Regions from separate parts of the Homo sapiens genome. Here all the other regions are linked to region 2. Evidence: promoter capture Hi-C in human tissues and cell types (Jung and others, 2019). All regions are on one chromosome and are shown on one strand. The core of a region is centred on a gene start or on the middle of the fragment in contact, and the rest is flanking DNA. Distances in the headings are between cores, read along the strand shown.

What was found. Contacts are between HindIII fragments. The study calls those that stand out against the background at their distance.
Region 1: a fragment that was not itself captured here is called in contact with the fragment with the promoter of ADRA2C in region 2 in 2 of the 25 tissues and cell types used here (aorta and lymphoblastoid cells).
Region 3: a contact is called between a fragment that was not itself captured here and the fragment with the promoter of ADRA2C in region 2, in 3 of the 25 tissues and cell types used here (heart left ventricle, small bowel and spleen).

Annotation. Positions count from the first base shown.
Region 1 is chr4:3,673,175-3,677,508 of GRCh38, forward strand. It overlaps LINC02171 (long intergenic non-protein coding RNA 2171), which reads right to left. Exons shown (of 3, transcript NR_034136.1): 1 at 3,997-4,334; 2 at 3,429-3,507; 3 at 419-687. Among named protein-coding and RNA genes, the nearest start is that of LINC02171, 2.5 kb to the right of the region's middle. RefSeq lists a silencer at 2,128-2,422. The HindIII fragment of the contact is 8,065 bases long and covers 1-4,334 here.
Region 2 is chr4:3,763,359-3,767,634 of GRCh38, forward strand. It overlaps ADRA2C (adrenoceptor alpha 2C), which reads left to right and starts at 3,027. Exons shown (of 1, transcript NM_000683.4): 1 at 3,027-4,276. The coding sequence starts at 3,249. The HindIII fragment of the contact is 18,027 bases long and covers 1-4,276 here.
Region 3 is chr4:3,864,700-3,869,008 of GRCh38, forward strand. No RefSeq gene overlaps it. Among named protein-coding and RNA genes, the nearest start is that of ADRA2C, 100 kb to the left of the region's middle. RefSeq lists enhancers at 1-126, 127-1,067, 3,549-4,062. The HindIII fragment of the contact is 4,095 bases long and covers 500-4,309 here.

The sequences.
Region 1 (4,334 bases), core at 1,628-4,127, 90 kb before region 2:
TTATTGGCAGTGTGAGAACAGACCAATACACCATCCCACAGGGGATCTGGGGGCGATGCAAACCTTCAGTTCACAGCAATGCCTTGTGGTTTTCCTCCCTGGGGTTCCCTGGCCCAGACTGTTATATGTGGACTGGTCATTAGCACTGGCATGGTGTCCTGTCTTGGGTGCTGAAGGACGGAGCCTGTGAACAAGCTGTGCCTTTTGGGATGTGGGCTCGGGCAGGCCACTCTGGGGGCACCGTGGTCTCTGGGATTTGGAGGCAGGTTCTGGAGCAGGCCCTGCCTTCCTACTCTTAACACAGACACTGCTGTCTCAGTTTCCTGCAAACACTCTTCTCCTCTTAGACAGAAAAGCAAATGTGTATCCAACCTTTATAAGCAGACAGAAGCTTAGTTCAACAAATGGACTACCCATGTATATTCAATTTCTCCTATTTATTAAAATTAATAAAAATGGGACGTGTTGTATGAGACCCTTTACTGTCACCATTTCTTAGGCTATATCCATAATGGAATGAAGAGACCCCTGGATGCTGCAGCTTGAAGGAGCTGGATGATTGCTGCTCCCACCTAACAGTCCTGAGCTGATTGCTCCAGGTCGATGGTCATGGCCACTCAGGGACCCAGGTCTCCCCATGTTGCTCCCACACCGAGGCCATGGTCACCTGGCAGGTGCAGGTCCAGCCTACGGGAAGTGGAGAGGAGTGAGAAGGATGCAAGGCCAGTATCTCCAGCCCCATCCAAGCCTGGATGTGGCACAGGCCAGAACAGACTCCTGGAGCACCTTCATGGCTGGGCCTGAGGTGGGTCCGGCAGGGCAGCCCTGGCCTAGTTCCCTCCCTAGGAAGAAAGTCTGCAGCCCGCACCATGAGGGGTGGCACGCTGTGTGTTAACTTTCCTCCTGTGAGGAGCCTTACGGACCGAGAGACCTTCTGAAACTCAACTGATTTAATTAATCAGTGTTGTAATTATTATTGTTTTTGTGCTCAGATTATTATAACTTGGCAGGAGGGAGAGCCTTCAAGCAGGATGCTTTGTCCTTCCGGAAGAACCCCTGGTGTCTGGAAAGCATCCTTGCTTTCTGGCAAAACAGGATGTTCTAGGTGGTTCCGGCTATCTCCTCCCTAGAATGTGGAGTCGGCGGCCCTCCAAGGATCCTTGCCACCTTCCATTGCAGAGGAGACTCCAGGCACAGGAAAAAGTGACCCGTGGCTCTTTGTAGACATAGGATTGGAAAAAATGGTCTTTTTATAAATATCAATAATTTTCATAATTTTCCCAATTGCACATGTAATGCTGCTGCTGCTCTTTTCCCCAGTACTAGGGCCCTGTCACATGGACGTGGGGTAGGCCGTGATCTTGGAGCCAGGAGCACAGGAGGGCTGTGGGGAGGTGGAGGCCGGGGGTTGCAGCTGCACTGATGTGCAGGGGGCTGGGTCCAGGCCAGCTTTCCTGTCTGCACTGCCTCCTTCATCCCGACCCCCGTCCTGACCCTGTGTCCCTGGAGAGCTGCCTCAGGGTCACTGTCCAAGGGGCCTCTGCCCTGGTCACAACCCTCATCCTGTTCTTGTGGTTCCAGGACACCCTGCTGAGCCGTTGTGGACCTCCGTGGACCCAGGATGCCCAGAGCCACAGAGCAGACACCTGTGTCTTCCAGGGCCTTGCTCAGAGCAGGCTGCGGGGACAAAGAGCATTTCCTCCCTTCCTCCCTCCCTCCCTCCCTGCCTCTGTCCCTTCCTTTCTCCCTCCCTCCTTCCCATCATCCCTCCCTCCCTCCCTTCTTCCCTCCCTTCTTTCCTCCTCCCTCCCTCCCTCTCTTCCTTCCTCCCTCCCTCTCTCCCTCCCCTCCTCCCTTTCTCCTTCCCTCTCTCCCTCCCTCCCTTCCTCCCTCCCTTCTTTCTCCCTCCCTCCCTCCCTCCTTTTCTCCCTCCTTCTTTCCCTCCCTCCCTTCCTTCCTCCCTGTCTTCCTTTCTCTTCCTCCTTCCTTCAGTAATTTATTAACCAAAAACTCCCTATTGAGCACCTACTGTGTGCAGTGTAAGAGGCTAGCCTGTCTGGCTGAGCTGAGCCTAAGGCGGAGGTGACCCCTCCTGAGAGCTGCGCCACTCTCAGAGCAGGTAAGGGCTCCCATCACACAGGAGGCTCTGAGGCCCGGCATGCACTGGCTGTGCTGTGGACTTGCGCATGTCCTAGGCACAGGCTCACACCTGAAGCCCGGCTCTAGCGGCCGAGACAGCCTTGACAAGGGCTGGCTCCTGCCAGCCAGAATAGAGATGAGCCAGAAGCCCCAGGCTGCCTCCTGCAGGAGGCGTCGAGTCCCGACGTCATCCACAGAGGCACAGGCACGTTTCCTAGGCACACATGCGCCACCCCACCCCCCACCACAGGCGCATTGCAGGCGGCTTTCTGAGAGGGGACAGCACAGGGAAGTGGTGAGCTTTGGCATCAGGATGACCAGGGAACCCCGGGCTGCGACCAGGGCACAGGCTACCAGCACTCTGCCTCTGTGCCTCGTATCCATGACATGGGGCTCACACTAACAGCACACACTGCGGGAAGGATTAGGTGTGATACTCTGGGCCAAGTGTGGGCACGGGGAATCGAGAAATGGCTCGGTGGCCCACGGCTGCCATCAGCATTGTCGTATGGCGAGGATTTTATGGTTTCACCACGATGGGTGTACATTCTTCAGACAAGGGCGGACACCCGGGAACCCGGAACCTGTCCCGCAGCTGTGGAGCCAGCATAGGTCCCACCGCCCCAGGGACAGGCCCAGCTGCTTGTTCTGGGATATGGGGCTGCAAATGTTGTGAACTTCCCAGGGGGCTGAGAGAGGCCAGCTGGGGACTCCGAGGACAATGGGGAGGTGGGGAGGTGGGGAGGTGGGGAGGTGGGGAGGTGGGGCTCCAGCTGGGGAGGAAGCATGGGAGGGTGGGGACCGAGGTCCCCAAAGTCTTCTGCAGACCCTGAGATTCTGAGATGTACGCTTTAGAACACGACAATGGCTTAGTGACTTTCACTCAGGGACAAAGCCCCCAGCAGAGTCAGCATCCACGCTCCTAAGTGTCAGGTGCCTCTGGGCCGCCTCTCTACGCTGTGCCTGCCCCTGCCTCTGCCAACGACCTACCCCTTAGGTTCTGGCGAGAGAGTCCCAGGCTTTCTTTACACCAGGGCCAGGGCTGCTCAGATCTCCTGACACAGCCACCTGCTGGGCCTCAGGGACACTCAGGCACCCTCCCCCTGGAAAGGCCACCTGGGTTGTGGAGACAGACAGGCACAAGTGTGGCTCAGAGCTCTGCCTCCCTGGAGCTGCCTCCTGACCACTCTGGGTCTCCATTTCCCACCTGTAGAGAGGCGAACAACAGCACTGGGCATGGGGCTAATGTGGAAAAGACCCTGTGGAATCTGCATGTCGCATGTGCTCACCTTGTGTTTCCGGAAGGATTCTCAGGCTTGAGGCGTGGGAGTGAGGAATCCCAGCCAGGGCTGGGCCACCAGCAGAAACCTGCAGGGAAGAGGACCTGGTGTGAGGAGTGGGCTGCAAGGTGAGGAGTTCTGGGGACTAAGGGGGTGGGATCTGTGCTTCATCCTGGGAGGTCATTCAACAGGGGCCTGCCCCCAGGAGCAAGTCACCTGCCTGGTCGCTGCTATGGCGACATAAACACCAATGACAGGCAGGCCCCGCTCTGGACGCTGGCTCTGTGGTTTTAATCTTTCCCAGCTCTATTTTACGCTGTTTATCAGCATTTATGAAGGACAGGTATGCCTTGGGCTGTCCCCAGGAATCCTGCTATCCTCATTGTGGGTCTAGATGGCTCCAGACTGGTCTCCTCGCTGCTCCATTGCTGCAGTGGGGACCCAGTGAGCACTGGGGGCCGGGGCTGATGCGGCTGGAGCACAAGCACGCGGGGTACATTTGCAGCCCCACCCAGCCGAACGGTGCACAGCAGGCCGGGCTGAGAGCAGCGGGAGGAGCCCGGGGCTGGGGGTTGACCTTTTCCCAACGTCCACGTCAGTGCTGGCAGGCGATGGGCTTCTCTGTGGCCGGTCCCTCTCTGGCTCTCTCCAGGTTCTGCATGTGTCCTGCTCTCTCCTGAGCACCTGTCACGCCCCTGAGGCTTGCTCACTCCTCTGTCTCGGGGCTTGCAGAAGAATGCTTGGGCAGGTCTCTCTAGCACCAAGGCCCTGCTTCTCCCCAGCCCATGGTTTCCGGTGTGGACCTGCCAGCCTTCCCGGTGAGCACAGGATGGTGAGAACCTGCAGCAGCCATGTAGGTGGGGCTTCGTGGAAGGCTGCGTGGGTACCCAGGCTCTCTAGGGTAGCCTATCCTGC
Region 2 (4,276 bases), core at 1,777-4,276:
AGAGTCCTCTCCAGCTTCCTTGCAAACAGCTGCGGTCCCGGGCCCTCCCACCACAGGCAGGCCTGCGTGCAATGCAACCCCTATGCATGGCCCAGGGCTTCGCTCCTCCTAATGACTCCAGGCCCCAGCTTTTTGCCCTTGGCTCCATCCAGGCCCTGGAGTGGACCCTTCTGACCCCTCCCTGGTCATGCCAGGAGGTGTTGCCAGCAGCATGTCAGCCTGTTGGCTGCCATCCCCAAGGGCCTGGGCCGCTCACTGGCCAGGCACTCCAGATGCCCTCAGCCTGGCCTGTGAGTGGCCCCTGCCTTCAGCCCTCCTGGGCAGTGGGAGGCTCATCTGGCTCAGGGCCCCAGGTGCTCCGTGTCCTTTTCCCTCCAAATTCCCGTGCCTGGGCTGCCATCTCTTGGGAACATAGGAGCCAGGATCCTAGATAGATCCCCATGCCCCTGCGCATCCCCCAAAGCACTTCTCAAAAAGAGAGCCCTTCAGGATGGGGGTGGGAGGCACGCTGATGCCGAGGGAGAGAGACCTTCTCCAAAGCCTGCATCTGGCCCCTGCCACTGCTCTTTCCTAGTCCTCCTGTCTCCCCACGCCCCCAGTACAAAGCCCACTCCCACTGGAAGAAGGACAGCCTACAGAGGCCTCCCCCTTCCTCATAACACCTCCTCACTCTCTAAGCACAGTTTGGTCACCTCCTCCAGGAAGGCTTCCTTGACAACCCCGCTCCCAGGCTGGGGGAGGAGCCCCAGGGCACTGATGGTTGTCAGCGCATTCACCTCAGTGGGTGGCCCCATCCACCCACAGATGGTGAGCACCTCAACTGAGGCCAGGCCCCCCTCACTCTCTGCCATCGCAGAGGGCTCAATAGAGACAAGGGCTCCAGCGGGCCGACCATGAAGGAAGCAGGTGTGTGTGGGCTTCCCTGAAAAATGCACCTCCAGGTGCCCTGGACAGGTGGCACCTTTTAGGCAACCAGAACCAGGAGGGCCTTTAGTAAGGATGGTGACCCTCCACCATCCCCAGGTCACACACCTCCCACAGGACAGCCATGGCCTGTTGCCTCCCCGAAGGGCATATGTGCCCTAGACTAGCACAGGACTGGCACAGAAGGCTTTGGCTCCAACGTGCGCCCCTGCTTGGCAGGCCCATCATCTGAAATATTTGCTTTCTGCCGGGCCCTGGCTCGGCCTCCACACCCCCAATGCAGGCCCTGCTGGTGACAAACATGGTGAAGAACGAAGCCGTAGCTCCTGGCAGTGTCTCTGCGGAGACAGACATGCTCCCCAGTAGGGCTGAGCAGCAGAGAACACGACAGGCTCTGAGGCTAAAGCTGGCGCCCTTCAGGAGCTCAGAGAGAAGCTGCCCCAGGCCACGGGCATGGATAGGCATCCCGGGGGTAGGGCAGTCACTCCAGCCGCTCTTCATGATGACCTCCCGGGCACTCAGAAGCGCCCCTTCCCCGCCGGTTCTAGCCACAGGATGGACAGACCTTCCCTCCCTCTCTCCTGCGGGCCCATGCAGGGAGAGGCCAGCCAGCTGGGGTTCGTTTCTGGACGTTTGGGAGAAGGGTCGTCCCTTCGGTCCTAGCAGAGAAACGTCAGGCCTGAGAACTCCAGCTCTCCTCCTGGATCACCTCGTCCCTGGAAGTCCCTCTCCCACAGACCCCAGGCTGCCTGGAGGCAGAAGCCAGCACCCAACATGGGCCACAGAGTGGCAGTGCACGTGGCAGTGCACATCTGCAGAATGGAGGTGCGCGGACGGGGGCGAGGGTGCACGGGGGCTACCTCAACGGCCGCTCTCCCCTGAGCCCACCCTTGCAAAAAGCTCCATCATCCAGGCAGCTCCGTTCTGGGTGTTTGTCAGAGGTGGTGACTTTGAACACCTCTCCATCCTTTAAAAGCAGGGCCTGAGAGCCTAAGGATTAAACTTCAATCACTGCTAACATGGGTGCAGAGCTTGGGAGCTTGCCCAGGGCTTCCACAGACACCGCCGTTAGTTATGATTCATGCTCCAGCAGCGCTGGGAAGTGGGCCGAGGGAACTGAGGCCGGGGTGGGTGCGGAGGTGGCTCTGACGGGGAGCGCCGATCCAGGATCTGGTCCGGACCCTGAGCTCGGCAGGACCTGTGCGCACGCAGGTAGCGTCGCGTCCTCCCCCAGGCTGCGAGAGGTTGCTCTGCCATCAGGCCATGGACCCCGAGCCGCCCGTGCTGCGCGCGCGCGTGTGCGCGCCCCCGCCTGCGCCCATGCCTGCGCCGGGGGAGGCGAAGGAGGCTCCAGTCTTAGAAAGAGCAGCTTCTGGAACTCACCACCCAGGCCGGCCGCCGCTCGGCCCCGTCCCGCAGGCTGCAGGCGGCCCTGGAGGGGGCGCCCTCGCCGAGCGCGCGCCCCGCGCCGCCGCCCCGGACTCCTCCCCGGCGCCGCGCGGGCAGGTTCGACCAGGCGGCCGCGGGCTCCGGTTCCCGGCCAGCTCCCCAGGGCCCGCGGCCCGCCCCGCCCCGCGCGCCCGCCCCGCTGCGCAACTCGACCCAAGTTGGAAGCCGATCGCAGGCGGCCGCACTCGCGCCCAGCGCAGGGCGGCGGCGGCGGCGGCGGCGCAGCTCCGGCGAGCGAGGCGGCGGCCGCACGGCCAAGCGTGGACCGCGGGGGGCGCCCGCGCCCGGGAGCAGCCGGAGGACTCGCGGCGGCGCCGGCGCCCCGCCCGGGAAAGTAAAGTTGGAGACGGAGGGAGCGCGCGGGCGCGGGGGCCCGGAGGAGCGGCGGCCGGCGCCCCGGCGCGCCGAGCCCTAGCCGGCCGGATGGGAGGCGGAGCGCCCGGGCCGCCGCCGCCTGTCGCCTGCGCCCCGGCTGGGCTCCGGGACCGCGGGGCCGCTCAGGCACGCCCGCTCGGGCGCCGCGTCGCCGTGGGCTCGACGCCGGGGCGCTCCCCGTGAGCCGGGCCGAGGGCGGGGCCGCGCGAGGACCCCGGGACCTGCCCCCCTCCCCCCGCAGCCGCGTCGCCGCTCGCTCCGGGCGCCTCCTGCTCTGCACTTACACGCTCGGCAGCTGCGGGGAGCCCGGCAGCCACGCTCTCCGGCGCGCCGCCCGCGGAGCCACCACGGCCGAGGGCCGGCTGCTGGGCGCCGCGGTCCCCGGCGGGCGCGCCCGAGCAGCAGGCGGCGATGCGGGCGCCGACCCCGGCTGGGGGGCGCCCGAGCTGCCGCGGCTGCGCCCCGGCTCCAGGAGGGACGGCGTAGCTCGCGGGAGGACCATGGCGTCCCCGGCGCTGGCGGCGGCGCTGGCGGTGGCGGCAGCGGCGGGCCCCAATGCGAGCGGCGCGGGCGAGAGGGGCAGCGGCGGGGTTGCCAATGCCTCGGGGGCTTCCTGGGGGCCGCCGCGCGGCCAGTACTCGGCGGGCGCGGTGGCAGGGCTGGCTGCCGTGGTGGGCTTCCTCATCGTCTTCACCGTGGTGGGCAACGTGCTGGTGGTGATCGCCGTGCTGACCAGCCGGGCGCTGCGCGCGCCACAGAACCTCTTCCTGGTGTCGCTGGCCTCGGCCGACATCCTGGTGGCCACGCTGGTCATGCCCTTCTCGTTGGCCAACGAGCTCATGGCCTACTGGTACTTCGGGCAGGTGTGGTGCGGCGTGTACCTGGCGCTCGATGTGCTGTTTTGCACCTCGTCGATCGTGCATCTGTGTGCCATCAGCCTGGACCGCTACTGGTCGGTGACGCAGGCCGTCGAGTACAACCTGAAGCGCACACCACGCCGCGTCAAGGCCACCATCGTGGCCGTGTGGCTCATCTCGGCCGTCATCTCCTTCCCGCCGCTGGTCTCGCTCTACCGCCAGCCCGACGGCGCCGCCTACCCGCAGTGCGGCCTCAACGACGAGACCTGGTACATCCTGTCCTCCTGCATCGGCTCCTTCTTCGCGCCCTGCCTCATCATGGGCCTGGTCTACGCGCGCATCTACCGAGTGGCCAAGCTGCGCACGCGCACGCTCAGCGAGAAGCGCGCCCCCGTGGGCCCCGACGGTGCGTCCCCGACTACCGAAAACGGGCTGGGCGCGGCGGCAGGCGCAGGCGAGAACGGGCACTGCGCGCCCCCGCCCGCCGACGTGGAGCCGGACGAGAGCAGCGCAGCGGCCGAGAGGCGGCGGCGCCGGGGCGCGTTGCGGCGGGGCGGGCGGCGGCGAGCGGGCGCGGAGGGGGGCGCGGGCGGTGCGGACGGGCAGGGGGCGGGGCCGGGGGCGGCTGAGTCGGGGGCGCTGACCGCCTCCAGGTCCCCGGGGCCCGGTGG
Region 3 (4,309 bases), core at 1,297-3,796, 100 kb after region 2:
CTCCCAGGAAGCAGGTGACACGTGTGCCCAAAGGTCACAGGTCACTCCCCTCCCACCTCCCTGACCCCACTTCTGACCAGAGTCAGCCCTTACCCCTCCCCGGGGAGCACTGGTCCAAAGCCCCTCATTCTCCAGGTCTGTTTCCTGGTCTCTAAAATGGGAGTACACCCAAGTGCTGTTTGTTTCCTTGTTTGTAGGATGGGAACAGCCTGGGTTTTACAGCAGCCGTCTCCGGGAGCCCGAGCTGGAGCAGGAAGAGGCCCGGCCGGGACTCTGCAAGGCGTGGGGTGCAGGTGGTTCTCCTTTCCTGGGGTCCCCGCTCTAGGGTTGATATGGCCTCCCTGAGCTCCAGGGAGATCACAGCTGAGTGCTGAGCCCACCTTCCGGCTGTGGCGGCGGGGCCACCCAGGCCCTGTGGAGGGGCCTGCACTCCGTCTCTGCCTCCCACCTCCCTGCCTGGGCCCAGGTAGCCACGGTCCAGGGGCAGGCCAGATGAGTGTCTGGGGTTCCAGCCTCCCTGCTGCCGGGCAGTGCTGCGCTGTGCCGGCCGTGCCAGCGTGGGGAGGGGGCCGTCATGGCTCTCAGCTCCTGCAGCCCATGGCCCAGAGGCTACCCTCACCAGGGCAGGCTCCAGGCCCTGAAGACACCCCTCTCCCTCCAGGGCAGCCTGTGCCAGCTCTGAAAGCGCCCCCGCCCCCCACCCACTGCCTCGGGGAGGTCGTCACAAGGCTTCCTGTGCAGGTACTCACCGGGGCGGCAGGAGCACAGGGCTCCATCTGCCCACAGGAGAAAGGAGGGAGCAACTTCGCCTGCCCTTCCCTGGGGGAACACGGCTGGAGCTGTGGCTGTGATGACTGGAGCTGTGGCTGTGGCTGTGACAGCTGGGTGGCAGGTCCAGGCGTCCCACCCAGGGTACTGTCCTCTGCATCCAGTCCAGGCAACACAGAATAAGCATCATGCTCCAGAGGAGGTAGCCTGCCTGTCCTTCAAATCCCTCTCCTGAGGCCCATCCTGCCCTTATGCTTGTCTTATCCCCAACCAGACAGGCTGCCCGTGCCACTCCGATGCCCAGCACCCACCAGCATAGCCACCTGGAGTTGTTTCCCCAAGCTGCAGGCCACTGTGTTAAGGGCCAGTCAGAGCTCATTTGGACAGGAAGGTTTTCTACACATTACAGCTCCCAAGCTGAAAGAAAGTTGTGAAAGCTGGACAGGTGGACATGGGTGGGAGAGGTGACACGGGTGGGACAGGTGGACACAGGTGGGAGAGGTGACACGGGTGGGACAGGTGGACACGGGTGGGACAGGTGGACACGGGTGGGACAGATGGACACGGGTGGGAGAGGTGACCCGGGTAGACGTGGGCAGGAGGGGCAATCTGGGTGGACGCTGGTGGGAGGGGTGTAATCTGGGTGGTCACGGGTGGGACGGGTGACCCGGGTGGACGAAGGTGGGAGGTGTGGTCCGGGTGGACACGGGTGGCAGGTGTGATCCGGGTGGTCGCAGGTGGGAGGGGTGAGCTGGGTGGACGAGGGTGGGAGGTGTGATCTGGGTGGACAAGGGTGGCAGGTGTGCCTCAGGTGGAGAAAGCAGCGTGATGCCTGCAGCCCAAATGGAAGTCACAGCCACCCAGGCAGGCAAGAGCTATGCCAGGCTGAGAGATGGAGATTTTGTCAGGAGGGCCAGGAGCATCTTGGGCTGACCCAGAGGTGGGGGTGACGCAGGCCCAGTAGGGGTTGAAGGCGGGGCTGGTGAGCTGGACAGGCAAGGGGAAGGCTGAATCCTGGCTAGAATATTACAACTCAGGTGATAATTATGCCCACTGTGGAGTCCAGATGGGCCCCCGGAGCTCTGGGATCAAGGCCTCATCTTCCCCGGTGAGGAGGAGGGTAGCCCCGAGGGGAGTGGGCAGCTCCATGGGGAGCCCAGGGCTGGGCCTGACTTCTCAGAGCCTTCCTGGCAGGCTGCAAAGGACCTTCAGTCATCCCCCTTCCAGCCTGGCTTGAATTCCCTGAGATGGGGACTCACTGCTAAGCCACCTCCATCACCACGGACGTGGACACAGGAGGGTAAGGCAGTGGTCCAGCGTGGTGGCCCCCATGTGAGGGACAGCAGGGATGGGAAGAAAAACGGCAGGAGAGTGGGGAGGCAGAACACAGAATGGGCTGCGGGAACGGGAGGCCAGCAAGGCTGGGGCCGCTCTGTCTGCTCAGATAGACTCATTCCAACGGATGCCGGCCAGATTCGTGTCCTGGGGCCGCCAAAACCAAGTCCCACAAACTGAAGCTTCAAACAACAGACACTGCTTCTCCCCAAGTTGTGGAGGCCAGAAGCCCGAGATCCAGGTGCCAGCAGGACTGTGGTGGCTCTGCAGTCCCCAGGGAGGCTCCTTCCTGCCTCTTCCAGCCTCTGCAGGCTACAGCAGGACTCTGGTCTCTGCCCCCACTGGCCCCGCACACTCCCTGCCTGTCCATGCCTCTTCCCCCCTTCTAAGGACACCAGTCATGTGGGTTCAGGGCCCACCCTACTCAAACAGGGCCTCATTTAACTGAACCAATTACACCTGCAGTTCCCTGTTTCCGGAGAAGGGCAAATTCTGGGGTTCCAGGAGAGACATGAAATGAGGGGGACATTATCCACCCAGTATACTGGCTGAAGGCCTCAGGGCCTCCTGGGCTGGTCTCAGGGTGGGAGGGAGACTTGGTCCCTGTGGAGGTGAGCAGTCCAGGGCCTTCAGAGCCAGCCTCCACAAACGTGTGGATGAATCAGTGAGGGAGAGGGCTGTGCTGTGGCCCTTGTCCTCGGGGAGTAAGCCTGTCTGTGGTGATGGCCATAGCACCAGGATGCAAGGTAGCAGGTGAGAGGGGCAGGGACACAGGCGGTGCCGCCCATCCTGCCCGGGGAAGTCTGGAAGCCTCTTCGGGCTGACCTGCCAGCCAGGCCTTGGAGGCGAGGAGGCACTGCTGTGAGGACTCTGCAGCCCTTGGCTGGGACATGTCCCCCACTGTGGGCAGCTGCTGCTGCAGACACACTGGCTGTTAAGGAGCAGAGTCCAAGCCTCCTGCAATACGTTCGGGAACTTTCTGCCTTGGAAAACATCGAATCTCTAATATTGTCCCTTTCCTCTAGAAAAGGCACTGGGTACAGAGATGACAAGGCGCTGGCCCTGCCTTCCAGGGGCCCCCAGCATCATGGGGAAGACACCCAGTGACTGGCCAACTCATCTCTGCCTTTCCGCTGTCGGCTGCACAAGTGTGCACCTGCTGTGGCCCCTGGGAAGTCTTCTGTGCTAAAGTGGAAAGGCTTCCAGTGCCTTCACAAAGTAAATGCTGCTGAACGACAGCTGCCTATCTCAGTCCACTTGTGTCGCTACAAAGGATACCCGAGGCTGGGTGATTTATAAAGAACAGAAGCTTACTTGCTCACGGTTCTGCACGCTGCCTGGGAAGCACGGCCCTGGCATCTGCTTGGCTTCTGGGGAGGCCTCAGGAAGCTTCCACTCACGGTGGAGGGGGAGGGGCTGCGTGTGTGGAGCTCACAGGGCGGGAGAGGAAGTCAGAGAAGGAGGTGGGTGCGGGCTATTTTCAGTAGCTGCTTTGTCGGAAACTCAGACAGTAGAATTCACTCCCCAACCCCCGCCCCAGGGCATGAATCTACTCACAGGGATCCACTCCATGAGGAAAACACCTTCCATTAGGCCCCACCTCCAACACTCTGGGATCAAATTGCAACCTGAGGTTTGGAGGCCCAACCATGCAGCTGCCAGCACTGCTCCTGGATATCACCAAGGAATACGGGTCAGTCTCAGTCCTAGAGATAGCTGCTACCCTCAGGGACTCAGCCCTAGCAGTACCAAGGACAGCGGCCTAACCACCAGATGTGCCTCCTGATAAGGTCATTGGAGCATTCGCAGACAGTCTTCAAGCATCCACTGTGTGCCAGGCTCGCGCACCGAGGCCATGCCAGCGGGTGTCATCATGCCAGCTCTTCCCAGGCCTGGGCAGCTGAGACCTGTGCATGCCAGGCCAAAGTCTCCAGCCCCAGATGTGAACCTGGAATGCCCCGGCCCACCTCCTCCTTCTTGGGGTCCCCAGATTCGCTTCCCGAGGACCTCGAAGGGTTCACATTCTCACCATAAGCAGGCGCTCACACCGGGGGCAAGCAGAGGGACAGCAGCCCCCTAGAGGCAGGGCCCAAGGGTCCCATGCACTTCACCCCTGCTGCAGGACCTGGCCTGGGCCTGTGACTTGGGAATGCCACATCATAGAGGTTCTCTGGAAACAAGGAATGCAGACCCCATGACCACGTAC